Regions from separate parts of the Homo sapiens genome. Here region 2 is linked to region 1. The links are contacts of gene promoters, found by promoter capture Hi-C in human tissues and cell types (Jung and others, 2019). All regions are on one chromosome and are shown on one strand. Each heading gives the region's core, a stretch centred on a gene start or on the middle of the fragment in contact. The rest is flanking DNA. Distances are from core to core; before and after follow the strand shown. Region 1 holds the start of GLT6D1 (glycosyltransferase 6 domain containing 1). Region 2 has its middle 7.4 kb from the start of COL5A1.

Region 1 (7,246 bases), core at 4,251-6,750:
TAACTGGCCATGCATCCTTTTCATTAAGGTACAATCCTCCAGGAGGACAAATGACACAAAATACATGGCACCAAAGCAGTGGGGGTGGTCATTTTGTTTTGCTTTTTGAGACAGAGTCTCACTCTGTCTCCCAGGCTGGAGTGCAGTGGTGCGATTTCAGCTCACTGCAACCTCCGCCTCCCAGATTCAAGCTATTCTCCTGCCTCAGACTCCCAAGTAGCTGAGATTACAGGTGCCCACCACCATACCCTGCTAATTCTGGTGTTTTTAGAAGAGACAGGATTTTGCCATGTCAGCCAGCTGGTCTCCAACTCCTGACCTCAAGTGATCCGCCCGCCTCTGCCTCCCAAAGTGCTGGAATTACAGGCGTAAGCCACCATGCCTGGCCTTGTTTTTCCTTTCCTTTTTTTTTTTTTTTTTTTTTTGGCATGATTTATTTTTACTTTATTTCCCCTTTTTTGTTTCAATCAACTTTATTTTTAGAGAAGATTCAGCTTTACAAAAACGTTCTAAAGCTAGTATGCGGAATCCCCTGCACCAACCCAGTTTTTCCTATTATTAACATCTAGCTTTAGTAGGGTACTTTTGTTCCAATTCATGAAGCAACACTGATGCTGTATTGTTAACGAGAGTCCATACTTTGGTTGGATTTTCTTGTTTTCCCCTAATGTCTCTTTTTTTTTCAGGATCCCACCCAGCATGCCACACTCCACTCAGCCTCCTGTCTGGATCCCACCCAGCACGCCACACTCCACTCAGCCTCCTGTCTGCACAGGATCCTCTTGACTGCAGCCGCCTCTCAGACCCCATCATGACTTCCTATTGATGCTGACCTTGTTCACCTGGCTAGGGTTCTGTTTTCGGGCTTCTCCACGCAAAGACTGCTCTTTCTCCCCGTTTTCTTTATAAGAAAGCGCTGCGCGCAACCCAAACTTCAGGACTGGGGCGTCAGGTTCTGTGTCGTTGGTAGTGGAGAATCTACAGACATGATTTGGAATTCTTCTGCATATGGGAGATTTGTCTCTTCTCCCTTCTTCCTTCCTTCTATCCTTCCAACATCCAGCCAACCTGTCTTCCTTCCTTTCTTCCTTCTTTTTGCTCCTCCAATCATTCATTTACATCAGTATGAACTTGTGGAAGTTCGTTTCATACTTTGGGTTATAATTCAATGTTACTTTCTTTTCTTGCTCAAAAGGCTTCAGCTTTGGCCATCGGGAGCTCTCCCAGTTAGCTCCCATGTCCCATTTAAGTGACATACTCCCTTCAATATAGAATTTGTAAAAAAAATCCCTTCCATCCCTCCTGGCACTATGAGATGCTCTGGGCTCATCTTGTAAATCTCCTGTCCGAATCTAGAACCATCCACTTCTCCAAGAAGCCTTGGTCGCTTTCCTGGAGAATGGTGCCAGAAACCAAGATCTGTTGCTTTCCTGGAGAATGGTGCTAGAAACTAAGGTCTGCTGCTTTCCTGGAGAATGGTGCTAGAAACAAGATCTGTTGCTTTCCTGGAGAATGGTGCTAGAAACCAAGATCTGTTGCTTTCCTGGAGAATGGTGCTAGAAACCACGATCTGCTGCTTTCCTGGAGAATGGTGCTAGAAGCCAAGATCTGGGTACCAGGTGTGCTCATTGCTTCCAGGGTGTCCTTCCTCCGAGGCCCTCTCAGCTAACAGAGCAAGGAAATAGACACTAACCTGTGCGTATTTCCACATATCTTTAAACACGTTGACACGTAAATGTCTCTGTTCATAGTAAGGTAAACGTGAGTTCACGCTGAGGTCTCCAGCTTCAATCCATTCCCACGTGGATCACTGTGGCCCCCTCTCTTGCTTAACTATGAAGTTCCCTCCAACAGCAAGAAACTTGCTCCCCCATGCCTCATCCATTTATTTAATTGATTCAAATATACATGTATAGCAGCAGCAGAATTGTTAACTCATATTCCTGTGGGAAAAAACCTTTATTGACCCAAATACATGTACAGTGCTCATGTACAGTTTCTATTGCCTTTACTTTCAAACTCCACTCATACCCAGCTGGGCACTGTGGCTCACACCTGTAATCCCAGAATTTTGGGAGGCTGTGGCAGGCGGATCACCTGAGGTCAGGAGTTTGAGACCAGCCTGGCCAACATGGTGAAACCCCATATCTACTAAAAATAAAAAATTAGCCATGCCTGGTGGCATGTGCCTGTAGTCCCAGCTACTAGGGAGGCTGAGGCAGGAGAATCGCTTGAACCAAGGAGGCAGAAGTTGTGGTGAGTTGAGATCGCTCTACTGCACTCCAGTCAGGGTGACAGAGTGAGACTCTGTCTCAAAACAAAACAAAACAAAAAAAACTCCACTCATTCCTAAGTTATTTTAGGTCAGCAGCTTTTTCCCTGACCCCTTCCAGTGGGATTGTTCTGTACATTTGGGATATAGATTATGTTCTCACAGTCTGCATTGCTTCCTAGGATACCTCGAACCTCCTAGCTAATTTTTTAAATTTACATATGTTAATTTCACTCTTCGTGCTGTAACGTCCTGTGGGTTTTTTTTCAAATGCAAAGTTACATGTGTCCATGGTTACACTGTCATACAGAACAGTTTCACTGCCCCCCAAAATTCCTTTGTGCTTCACCTATTCATCCCCTCCCTCACCTCCACCCCATGGCAACCACTGATCTTTTTCCTGCCAATATAGTTTTGCCTTTTCCAGAATGTCACATGAGAATTATACAGCACGCAGCCTTTTCAGATGGGCTTTTTGCACTCAGCAATATGCATTTAGGGTTCCTCCATGTCTTCTAACAGCTTGATAGCTGATTTCTTTTTTTTCTTTTTTTTGGGGGGATGGAGTTTCACTCTTGTTGCCCAAGCTGGAGTGCGATGGCGTGATCTCAGCTCACCGCAACCTCTGCCTCCCAGGTTCAAGTGATTCATCTGCCTCAGCCTCCTGAGTAGCTGGGATTACAGGCATGCACCACCATGCCCAGGTAATTTTGTATTTATAGTAGAGATGGGGTTTCTCCATGTTGGTCAGGCTGGTCTCGAACTCCCGGCCTCAGGTGATCCACCTTCCTCAGCTTCCCAAAGTGCTGGGATTACAGGCATGAGCCACCGTGCCCGGCCAGCTCATTTCTTTTTACTGTTGGGTGTTATTCCGTTGCACAGATGAGCCACAGCATGTTTATCCTTCTCCTATTGAAAGTCGTCTTGTTCGTTTCTGGTTTTGAGCACTTCATGAACCACAGCTTGTTTATCATCCACCTGCTGAAGGGCATCTAGTATGTTAGTGGTTTGAGGCATTTATGAATAGAGTTTCTATAAACATCTTGTGCAGGGTTTGTGTGGACATAAGTGTTTTAATCAGTTGGCTACATGCCTAGGAGCACAGTTGCTCTGTGGCATGATAAGGCTCTATCTAGCTTTCTAAGGAACTGCTACACTGTCTTCCACAGTACCTGTAACATTTTGCATTCCCACCAGCAATGAATGAGAGTTCCTGTCCTTCCACTTCCTCACCAGAAGCTGGTTTTCAGATTTTAGATTTTTGGGTGTTAGCCGTTCTAATGGGTGTGTAGTGGTATCTCCTTGTTTTCGTTGCAATTTCCTGATGACAAATGAGACTGAGCATCTTGGCGTTCGCTTATTTCCCATCTGTATATCTTCTCTTGTGAGATTCTATTCAGTTCTTTTGCTCATTTTTAAATGTTTTAAATGTCAATATTTAATTTTTAAATTTAGGTGTTTGTTTCCTTATTGTTGAATTTTAAGAGCTCTTTGCATATTTTGGGTACAAGTCCCTTACCAGATACATGTTGTGCAAAGCTTTCATTTTTAAAAACTATTATCTGTCATGATACTACTGCTGTTCAAATAGCCTCTGGAAACACTGCATTGCTTATGAAGAAGACCATGAGGAGTGGTATGGAGAAAGCTAGAATTTGAGTTTTTCTAGACGGGAAAATATTAGCAGGTGTATTAGTCTGTTTTCACGCTGCTGATAAAGACATACCCAAGACTGGGAAGAAAAAGAGGTTTAATTGGACTTACAGTTCCACATGGCTGGGGAGGCCTCAGAATCATGGCAGGAGGCAAAAGGCATGTCTTCCATGGCAGCGGCAAGAGAAAATGAGAAAGACGGAAAAGTGGAAACCCCTGATAAACCCATCAGATCTCATGAGACGTATTCACTATCATGAGAATAGCATGGGAAAGACCAGCCCCCATGATTCAATTACCTCCCCCGGGTCCCTCCCACAACACGTGGGAATTCTGGGAGATACAATTCAAGTTGAGATTTGGGTGGGGAAAGAGCCAAACCATACCAGCAGGTTTACAGATGCGTCCTCTAGTACACATGCTTCTATATGCATAGAATTAGGTTGACTTTAGTCTTGTTTACATTAAACACAAAGATGGAACCTTTAGTATTATTTATATTAAACACAAAGATGGAAACTTGAGATAGTTTATAATTCATCTAAAATGGCATTGTCACCTTTATTTTTTATTATGCTTGTTTTATAAAATATTATATCCCTGGCATTGTCTTTTATGTGTATTTATTGTCTACCTTCTCCAAATAGAATGAAAGCTCCCTGAGGACAGGCACTTTCATTATCACTGCATCCCCAGCACCTAGAATACAGCCTGGCACCTAGAAGGCACTCTGTAAATAATTGTTGAATGTTTAACAATGAAATAATTAAAATATGTATATTTTCCTTTGTCCCACAAAGAGAAAGTAACTTCTGATTTATTTAGAGAGTAGTATTGATATCTTTGGACAAAACTCAGCAGTTTAGATTATCTCTGCCAGCCTGGACAACATAAGTCTCTACAAAAAAAATTCAAAAATCAGTTGTTTGTGGTGACATGTGCCTGTAGTCCCAGCTACTCAGGAGGCTGAGGTGGGAGGATCACTTGAGCCTGGGAGGTCAAGGCTGCAGTGAGCTAATATGGCACCACTGCACTCCAGCCTGGGCAACAGAGTAAGACCCTGTCTCAAAAATTAAATTAATTAATTTAATTAAATTAAAACCACCTCTGCCAATCACTAAAGATCATGATTTATCAATACTTTATATTTACCTGAAATAACGCTCAACCAACATCAGTGAAAAAGCAAATAAAACCAATAACAGCATTCTTTTAGAATTCATTCTCTCCTAGGGAAAGAAGGAGAAAAAATTAGATTTTAAGCAATAAAAAATGACATATTTGTCATCATCTAACAATGGGTTAATGTATGGGCATTGGACACCAACCTTAGAGGTTGCTTCTAGAATGTTCAGCTGGCAGGAGACAGCGACTTGAGTTAGGGAAGCCTCTGTTCTCCTTCAAGTGCCCGGGGCTGACTGTTCCCCGTGGGTCAGCTGCACGTGCACTGTCTCTCCCCGTGTTCACATCAAAGTCTGCGTTGATTGCATGAAAGAAACGCAATAAATCTCTCCACTGCAGGGCTGTGCAAATAGAATGAGGTCTTGATGAGGAAGTCTTCTTGATCTAGGAGAATGTATTCTGCCCCCGAAGTCGACTTTTTATTCTTTCTTCCTCACTAAGATAGTAAGATGAATAATTTGTTCCAAGACTATGCCAGTCTAAAAATTTACAAGTGCTCTCAAAGGTAGATCTTGTAAACGGAGAATGAAGTCTACATTAAAGGCATTAGACTTTACAATGGAAGTCTGGACTCTCACCAGTGCCTGAGCTTGTGTTGGAGGCTTCACGTGGGATTTGGTTTACAAGCCCATAGGGAACACGCCACTGCGCTGTGTGTCCACACAAAATGCAGGTCTCTGATTCTCTGATTTTCACTTTTTTTTTTTTTTTTTTTGAGATGGAGTCTCATTCTGTCTGCCAGGCTGGAGTGCAGTGGCACAATCTTGGCTCACTGCAACCTCCGCCTCCTGGGTTCAAACAGTTCTCCTGCCTCAGCCACCACATCCAGCTAATTTTTGTATTTTTAGTGGAGACGGGGTTTCATCATGTTGGCCAGGCTGGTCTCAAACTGCTGACCTCAGGTGATCCGCCCACCTCAGCCTTCCAGTGATTTTCAATTTTGAACACTCATTTAACAAACATGACACTTTAGCTCTGCACTGATAGCCATAGAGTAGCCACTTGCCACATGTGGTCCCGAGTGTGTGAAATGCAGCTGCTGTGAAATGAGGTGAGCTGCAAGTGTACAAAACACATGGGGTCTCAAAGTCAAACACAGTGCGAAAGAAAATAATTTACCATCTCACTCATAACTTCACATCGATCACAGGTGAAACGGTAACAGTCTGGGTGTCATAGTCTGGAAAGAATGAGTTAAATGAGAAATAAATTATGAAAATTAATTCACCTGTTTCTTCTTACTGTTTGTAATGTGGCTACTAGGAAACCGGACATTGATAATGTGGCTCACAGGCTGGGCGTGGTGGCTCACACCTGTAATCCCAGCACTTTGGGAGGTCGAAGGGGGAGGATCACGAGGTCAGGAGTTCAAGACCAGCAGGACCAACATGGTGAGACCCCCGTCTCTACTAAAAATACAAAAATTAGCCAGGTGTGGTGGCTCACGCCTGTAATCCCAGCTACTCAGGAGGCTGAGGCAGCAGAATCGCTTGAACCCAAGAGGCGGAGGTTGCAGTGAGCCAAGATCGCACCACTGCACTCCAGCCTGGGTGACAGAGCAAGACTCCATCTAAAAAAAAAAAGAAAAAAAGGAGAGAAAGAAAGAAAATGTGGCTCACATTATATTTCTATGGGGCAGTTCTTCATATAATCCCTTCCTGGGCAGGCTTCGGTTGGGCCCAGTTCTTGTACCTCTGCAATTGGAAACTGACCACCTTTTAAGTTCAAGATCACTAGAAATGCCATGTGGATGGGGTAAGACAGGCCCATCTAGCCAGGTTCTCTACAGCAGTGTGCCCTCCTCCATGACATCATCCCTGGGCATGCTACTAGCTGTATGTTGATGAGCTGCCTGTCTGTCAATATCTTTCTGAGGTCAAGGTTAGAGGATGACCCAAACCCTGATTTTACCACAATCATCCAAACTTTCCTAGATCCCTCTTTAAAAGTCCTTTACCTTGGGTTAGAGTGATGCAAAGAGATGGCCAAAGATGTTCCACAGGGACAGGGATCTTCTAAGCATATCTTTTGGTCTGTGTCGTGTCACAAACCAGCTGCCATCTACTGCTCTCCTAGCGCTGGAGTCTTCCGTTGGTGCTGACGTCACTGGGCACCTTTGATGATGCAAGCGTCACAGTG
Region 2 (6,277 bases), core at 18-2,517, 1.0 Mb before region 1:
TGTCCTGGAATGTAGTGCATTGCGATGGTTAATATTGAGTGTCAACTGGATTGGATTGAAGGATGCAAAGTACTGTTCCTGGGCGTGTCTGTGGGGGTGTTGCCAAAGGAGATTCACAGTTGAGTCGGTGGACGGGGAGAGGCAGACCCACCCTCAATCCAGGTGGACAGCATCTAATCAGCTGCCAGCATGGCCAGGAGAAAGTAGGGAGAAGAACATGGAAGGAAAAGTCTGGTTGAGTCTTCTGGCCTCCATCTTTCCCCCATGCTGGATGCTTCCTGCCCTTGAACATTAGACTCCAAGTTCTTCAGCTTTTGGACTCTTGGATTTACACCAGTGATTTGCCAGGGGCTCTTGAGCCTTCGGCCACAGACTGAAGGCTGCATTGTGGGCTTCCCTACTTTTGAGGTTTTGGGACTCACACTGGCTTCCTGGCTCCTTAGCTTGCAGATGGCCTATGGTGGGACTTCACCTTGTGATCGCGTGAGTCAATTCTCCTTAATAAAATCCCCTTCATATGTACAGCTACCCTATTAGTGCTGTCCCTCTAGGGAACTCTGACTAATACGGGGTGGAAAGTGGCTCCCAAAATATACTCCCATGTCCCAGACCCCAAACCTGTGAAGATGGACTTATTTGAAAAAAGGTCCGTGCAGATGCAATCAGCTTAAGGACCTGAGATGAATGAGGACATCCTCCTGGATTAGCCAGGCTGGCCTGGCCCTAAATACCATCCCAGGTGTCCTTGTAAGATGGAGGCAGAGGAGGCCAAAACAACAGCATGCCCTGAAGACAGGTGGTGTGAAACGAAGGTAGAGATTGGAGCCACGCAAGGAAGGCCTGGAGCCGCCAGGACCGGAGCAGGCAGGGAGGAGCCTCTGAGGCACGTGACCCTGCAACATCTAGGTCTCGAGCCTCCAGAACCGGGAGAGAAACATTTCTGCTGTTTTAAGCCTCGCTGTTTGTGGTATTTTCTTATGGCAGCTCCAGGACTCCGAGGCAAGGACCATAATGAAGTTGGCGTGGCTCAAGGACTAGAATTTTTAACAAATGAAGCTTGGCTGTTTCAGCCAATGAGCAGGGCATCCTTGTCCCGCCTGAACACTGCCCTGAGAGGCAGAGGGTGTGCTCGCATGACGTCAAACAGCCTCAGGCCTTACCCCAGATGAGCGGCCGTGTATTCTCAGGGTCTGCCCGGGGGCCAGGATGCATGTAAATATGCATCCCACAGTGAAGCCCAAAAGTCATGGTGAGCTCCCTGCACTTGGGGGACCCTGTTCAAATTGCAGAATGACTTTCCCAAAGCCATGTAACACCCCAGGTCTTCAGTGTCTGTCGGCTCCCACCGCATGGCCATGGTGAGGGGATGGATGAGACAGTGAATCCATGAAACCTCTTAGCACCCGGCTCAGGAAGGGGGTCCCCAAGGCCCCATGGATGGGGATTTTTGATGAGGCTTGACGTAAGTGGGCCAGGAAGTATGGTTAGGGTGTGTGTAACCAGCAGGCAGCCCTGCCTCTCTGAGGGAAGAACGCGCCATCTGAATCTCATAGGTCACTCGCAGGGGCTCTTGCCAGACCCGGGCAGATGCGCTGGTTTCCTACCTGAGACAAATCAGTCCTATCTCAAGGCCTCAGTTTCTTTATCTGTGAAATGGGAACTGCGGCCTTTGCCTCCCTCACAGGGAAGTTAGTGCCAAGGGCCAGGAGAATGGGGGGTGGGTGGTTGCCATGTGTGAGACCATGAGAAGGAGGTGATGGTATGGAAAACAATATCCGAGAGAGGTTCCTGGATAGACTCTGTTTTCTGCTCCCTGTGGGAGGCCCTGCACAGGGTCCTGAGTGATGGGGTCCATGGTTCCCATGTGATATGGTTTGGCTCTGTGTCCCACCCAAGTCTCACCTTGAATTGTAGTAATCCCCACACGTCAAGGGCGGGACCAGGTGGAGGTCATTGAATCATAAGCGTGGTTTCCCCCATGCTGTCGTTTTGATAGTGAGTGAGTTATCGCAAAATCTGATGGTTTTATAAGGGGCTTCCCCGCTTTGCCCAGCACACATTCTCTCTCCTTCTGCTCTGTGAAGTGGTGCCTTCTGCCATGATTGTAAGTTTCCTGAAGCCTCCCCAGCCATGCGGAACTGTGCGTCAATGAAACCCCTTTTCTTTATAAATTACCCAGTCTCGGATATGTCTTCATAGCAGTGTGGGAACAGACTGATACACCACGTCTGGGAACAGGCAGGGCCACAGTGCCTACCTCGCGGGGGCCTGGCCAGAGGTGCACTCTGCAGCTGACAGTGTCCAAGGCAAAGGCCTTCAAATGATGAGAGGCACAGCCTGGGCGGGGTCCTGGGCACCGCTGCCCTTGCTGCTGGCGAGTCCCAGCCGATTCCTCCTCCACCGTGTACTGGAAGGCATCCCACCCGTCTCCCCTCTCCCTGGAAACCATAGCTGCCTCTGACTTGAGCCCCACCTCTTGTTCCTCTAAGCAATCCTCAACACTGAAGTCAGAGATCTTTCCAGGATGCAAGTATGACATAGCCTTCTCCTCTTAAAACCCTCTACGCATCCCCATTCTCCTTGGGAAGAATACAAACTCCCTGCCTAGACTGACTTGCCCTGTGCCAGCCACCCCGCTCTCCTGTCCCTGTGCCAGCCGCTCCACCCTCCTGTCTCCAGCCCCTCAGCCCCCAGGCCACCTCCTCCCTGTTCCATCACAGCCTCCTTGGAGTGGCCTTCTGTGGCTTCCTCTGGGCCTGGGCATGTGCATTCCCTCTGCAGGGGGAGAAGAGTCCAGGATGGCATCAGTGAGGGGTGGCACCTGGCCCCAAGATGCCCCTCCTCCTCTTGTATCCTTTTGGGACGTGCTCCCACAAGCGTCCCTACTTCTTGAACCCCTGGGCCCTGAACCTGGGCCCTGCTGACCCCTGTCTGCAGGGAGAAGTGTCTAGGAGGACAGTGTTTATGTCAGGGTCCTTGGTAGCTGACTCTGAGGCTCTGGGTTTTCTAGGCGGACTCTGGAAACAAGGCCTGTGGGGGCGAGGGCAGCAAGCCGGGGCGCAGGTGCATGCATTCTGCAGAGGCCTCATGGAGCCCCCCGACCGCAGGACTCGGAAGCAGGGACGGCCCTTCTGAGTTGTCCCACATTCAGGAAAAGGGACAGGATCTGGAACCTTCTTCCTGACCGGTCCTTGGGTGTGGGCTGCCCTTGAGCAGGGATGGGGTCTAACCTCCAGTAAAAGGTAGTTTAGGCAAGGAACTCAGCTGTTGGCTGTCAGCAAACCATGCTCTTGACAGAGGCCAGGGGAGTCTGGGCCCTGAGGGGGTCTGGGCCAACCCCCCTCCACAGTGTGGAGCACTGGCTCCTGACTTTTTGAGAAAGCCTTCAGCTAACAGGCATTTCTGCTGGTACCACTGCCTTATGCTCGTGGCGTCCTGGAGCGTCGCTGGGGCAGTTGGTCATGGAAAGAGCTCTGTGCCCAGATGGGGTGGGGCTGTCTCCAATTCCTACACCTCCGAGTTAAGTGGTTTCACCCTCTGAGACTCTGTTTCCCCAGTCGATCATGAAGCTGCCGGAAGCAGGACGGATGGAGCCTTTTCTGAGCCTGTGCTCTGTGCCCGGCACAGTCTGTGTGTTATCTCGGATAACCTCCACAGCATCCTATGCAGGGGTGCACTGCGGTCCCCACTTTCCAGAGGAGAACCTGAGCCAGCGTGGGGAGGCTGCAGCCTCAGGCCCCTTGCTGAGGCAGACTCATATCCAGGACGCCGCTTGCTCCAGATTCTGAGGTCATGCCTGCCCTCACCTTCGTCGGATGGTGGGAAAGCTTCAGTGAGATCCCTAGGTGGGGAATCGTCACAGACACCCTCAAAAGCTGTTTCACCAGGGTGATCTTGTTGACTCCCGGGGAACAGCCCATTGAGTGGGAGGCATCTCTTTCCACCTATGCAGATGGTTCTTTAAAAGATTTAATAGCGGGGACCTTTCCAACTGACATTTCTTTTGGGCTGTAAACTCAACCTTTATCTCTAATATATTCTCCTGGAGGATGACACGCCAATCCAGGCCCAGTTTGGAAATGTGCCTTGGCACACTGTGGCCCGAATTAATTGCGAACTCACTCTATATATCTAAAGTCTGTTTGGTGTTCGTCATGGGCTCTCTCGCCTGGAAATTCCATTATTTTGCAGGGTTTACTTGGCACCTGATGGGATATCCAGGTCCAGTAAAACCAGGCCTTCGTGGACATGACATGGAAACAGAGCTGTGCCGCACAGCGGAGCGGGGCCAGTGAGATGGGAGGGCCAGTGAGATGGGAGGGCCAGGCGCAGCCAAGGGACAGCCAGGCTGTTTCAGCCATCGATGTCACGGCTCCATCCCTTGGTGATTTATGCTGCTCTGTCCCTGGGCTTGAAGGAGGGGCAGCCCCTCAGCTGCTGAGAGCCCTGCTTCCTGGCCCTCCATCAGACCATGATAAAGAGCATGAGCCGCCATGCTTGAGAAGCCGCCATGATGAAAAGCGCCTCCAACCTCCAGCTGCGTGTATATGTTTGATCAGATGCCAGGGCCAGCTGTGTCTGGTCCTGCTTGTGTGGCTTGATAAATTGGGCTGGGGGTCCTGGCACCGTGGTGTCCCGGGATGGGAGCTCTGGGAGGAGAACAGCTCCTCTGCTGGACTCTGGGTTGGGGAAGGCTGAGGGTTGGGGAAGAGGAAGAGGCTTCAGCTTCACAAAGTGGTAGAAGTTCAGGTGCGGGGGAAGGGCTTCAAGTAAACCACTGAGTCAGCGGATTGCATTTTCAATGGAATCATGGGGCCTGGAGTTCACTGGACCACAGCCTGCCTGGGTTCTTCCCAGCTCACTCCTCTCACCCCCTCTCACCCCCTCCCACCCACTCCTACCCCCTCTCACCCTCTCTCACCCCCTCCCACCCCCTCTCACCCACATCTAGATGGAGCACAGGCTGCAGGCTTGGACTGGGGAGACTGGGGTCAGACCCACGGCTGCTTCTCCGGAAGCAGAGGTATACACAGATGTGACTACACAGTGTCCCAAGGCCTGTGCCCCCACCTACCATGCTTGACTGTGTGCCCCAAGCCACACCTGCTTCTGTGCCCACCTGCTCCAGTGCACACCTGCCCCATGCACACCTGCTCCAATACACACCTGCCCCTGTGCACCACTGCTCCCATGCACACCTGCTCCCAGACACATCTGTCCCAAAGACTGACTTATTCACATGCACACCTTCATATCCAGAACAGAATGTGCTCCTAACAGGCAGCATGGGCAGGGGCACCTCACTCACAGAAAGGGGAGGGCAATTTGCTGTGGGGAGGGAAGCAAAGAGAGGAGACTCTGGAGTGGGCTTGGAGCCTTTTGGAGGAGATGCTGCATCTGCACTGGTGTTCTGGGCCCTCCAGCTGGCCCCACTCTCACACCCATGGTGGACAGTGCCACCGAGGAGAGGTTCAGCCTATGTGCTAGAGGGACAAGGAGACAGGGTGGTACACATTCATCAGAAGCCAGGGTCCCCTCTCACTGGCCAGGGTCCCCTCTCACTGGCCAGAGTCCCCTCCCACTGGCCAGGGTCCCCTCTCACTGGCCAGAGTCCCCTCCCACTGGCCAGAATTCCCTCCCACTGGCCAGAGTCCCCTCTCACTGGCCAGGGTCCCCTCTCACTGGCCAGAGTCCCCTCCCACTGGCCAGGGTCCCCTGCCACTGGCCAGAGTCTGCACCCCTCACCCCTGCCCCCGCCTTGGGGTGTGAGAATCCACAATAAGAGAGCACCTAGGTGGGTAAAAGTCTCTACTGTGCCAGAAAACAGAGCCCCTCAATCCTCAGATTTCTGCTAAAGGCCCACGGACTGGGACTGTTTTGCAGGAATCCAGTTTTAGGGGGATGAATTGTGTCCCCCTAAAATTCGTACATTGAAGCTTTGCCTCTCAGAATGTGGCTGTGATTGGAGATGGGGCTTTTAACAAGATAATTAAGTTTAAGTGGGATCATTAGGGTGGGCTCTCATCCAACTGACTGGGGTTCCCGAAAGAAGAGGAGATGAGGACGCAGACACACACAGAGAAATGACCGTGTGAGGGCATGGGGGGATGGTGCCGACTGCAGGCCGAGGAGGGAGGCCTTGGCTGAAACCAGTGCTGCCGTCACCTCAACCTCGGACTTCCAGCATCCAGGACTGTGAGGGAATAAATCCCTGCTGTCTAAGCTGCCCCATCTGTGGCACTCTGCTGTGGCCGCCGAGCTGACTCACACACCCGGG

What was found. Contacts are between HindIII fragments. The study calls those that stand out against the background at their distance.
Region 2: a fragment that was not itself captured here is called in contact with the fragment with the promoter of GLT6D1 in region 1 in 1 of the 25 tissues and cell types used here (dorsolateral prefrontal cortex).

The regions. Positions count from the first base shown.
Region 1 is chr9:135,634,040-135,641,285 of GRCh38, forward strand. GLT6D1 (glycosyltransferase 6 domain containing 1) reads right to left here and starts at 5,501. Exons shown (of 5, transcript NM_182974.3): 1 at 5,254-5,501; 2 at 5,078-5,154. The coding sequence starts at 5,148. The HindIII fragment of the contact is 10,839 bases long and covers 936-7,246 here.
Region 2 is chr9:134,631,222-134,637,498 of GRCh38, forward strand. No RefSeq gene overlaps it. Among named protein-coding and RNA genes, the nearest start is that of COL5A1, 7.4 kb to the right of the region's middle. The HindIII fragment of the contact is 7,228 bases long and covers 1-4,881 here.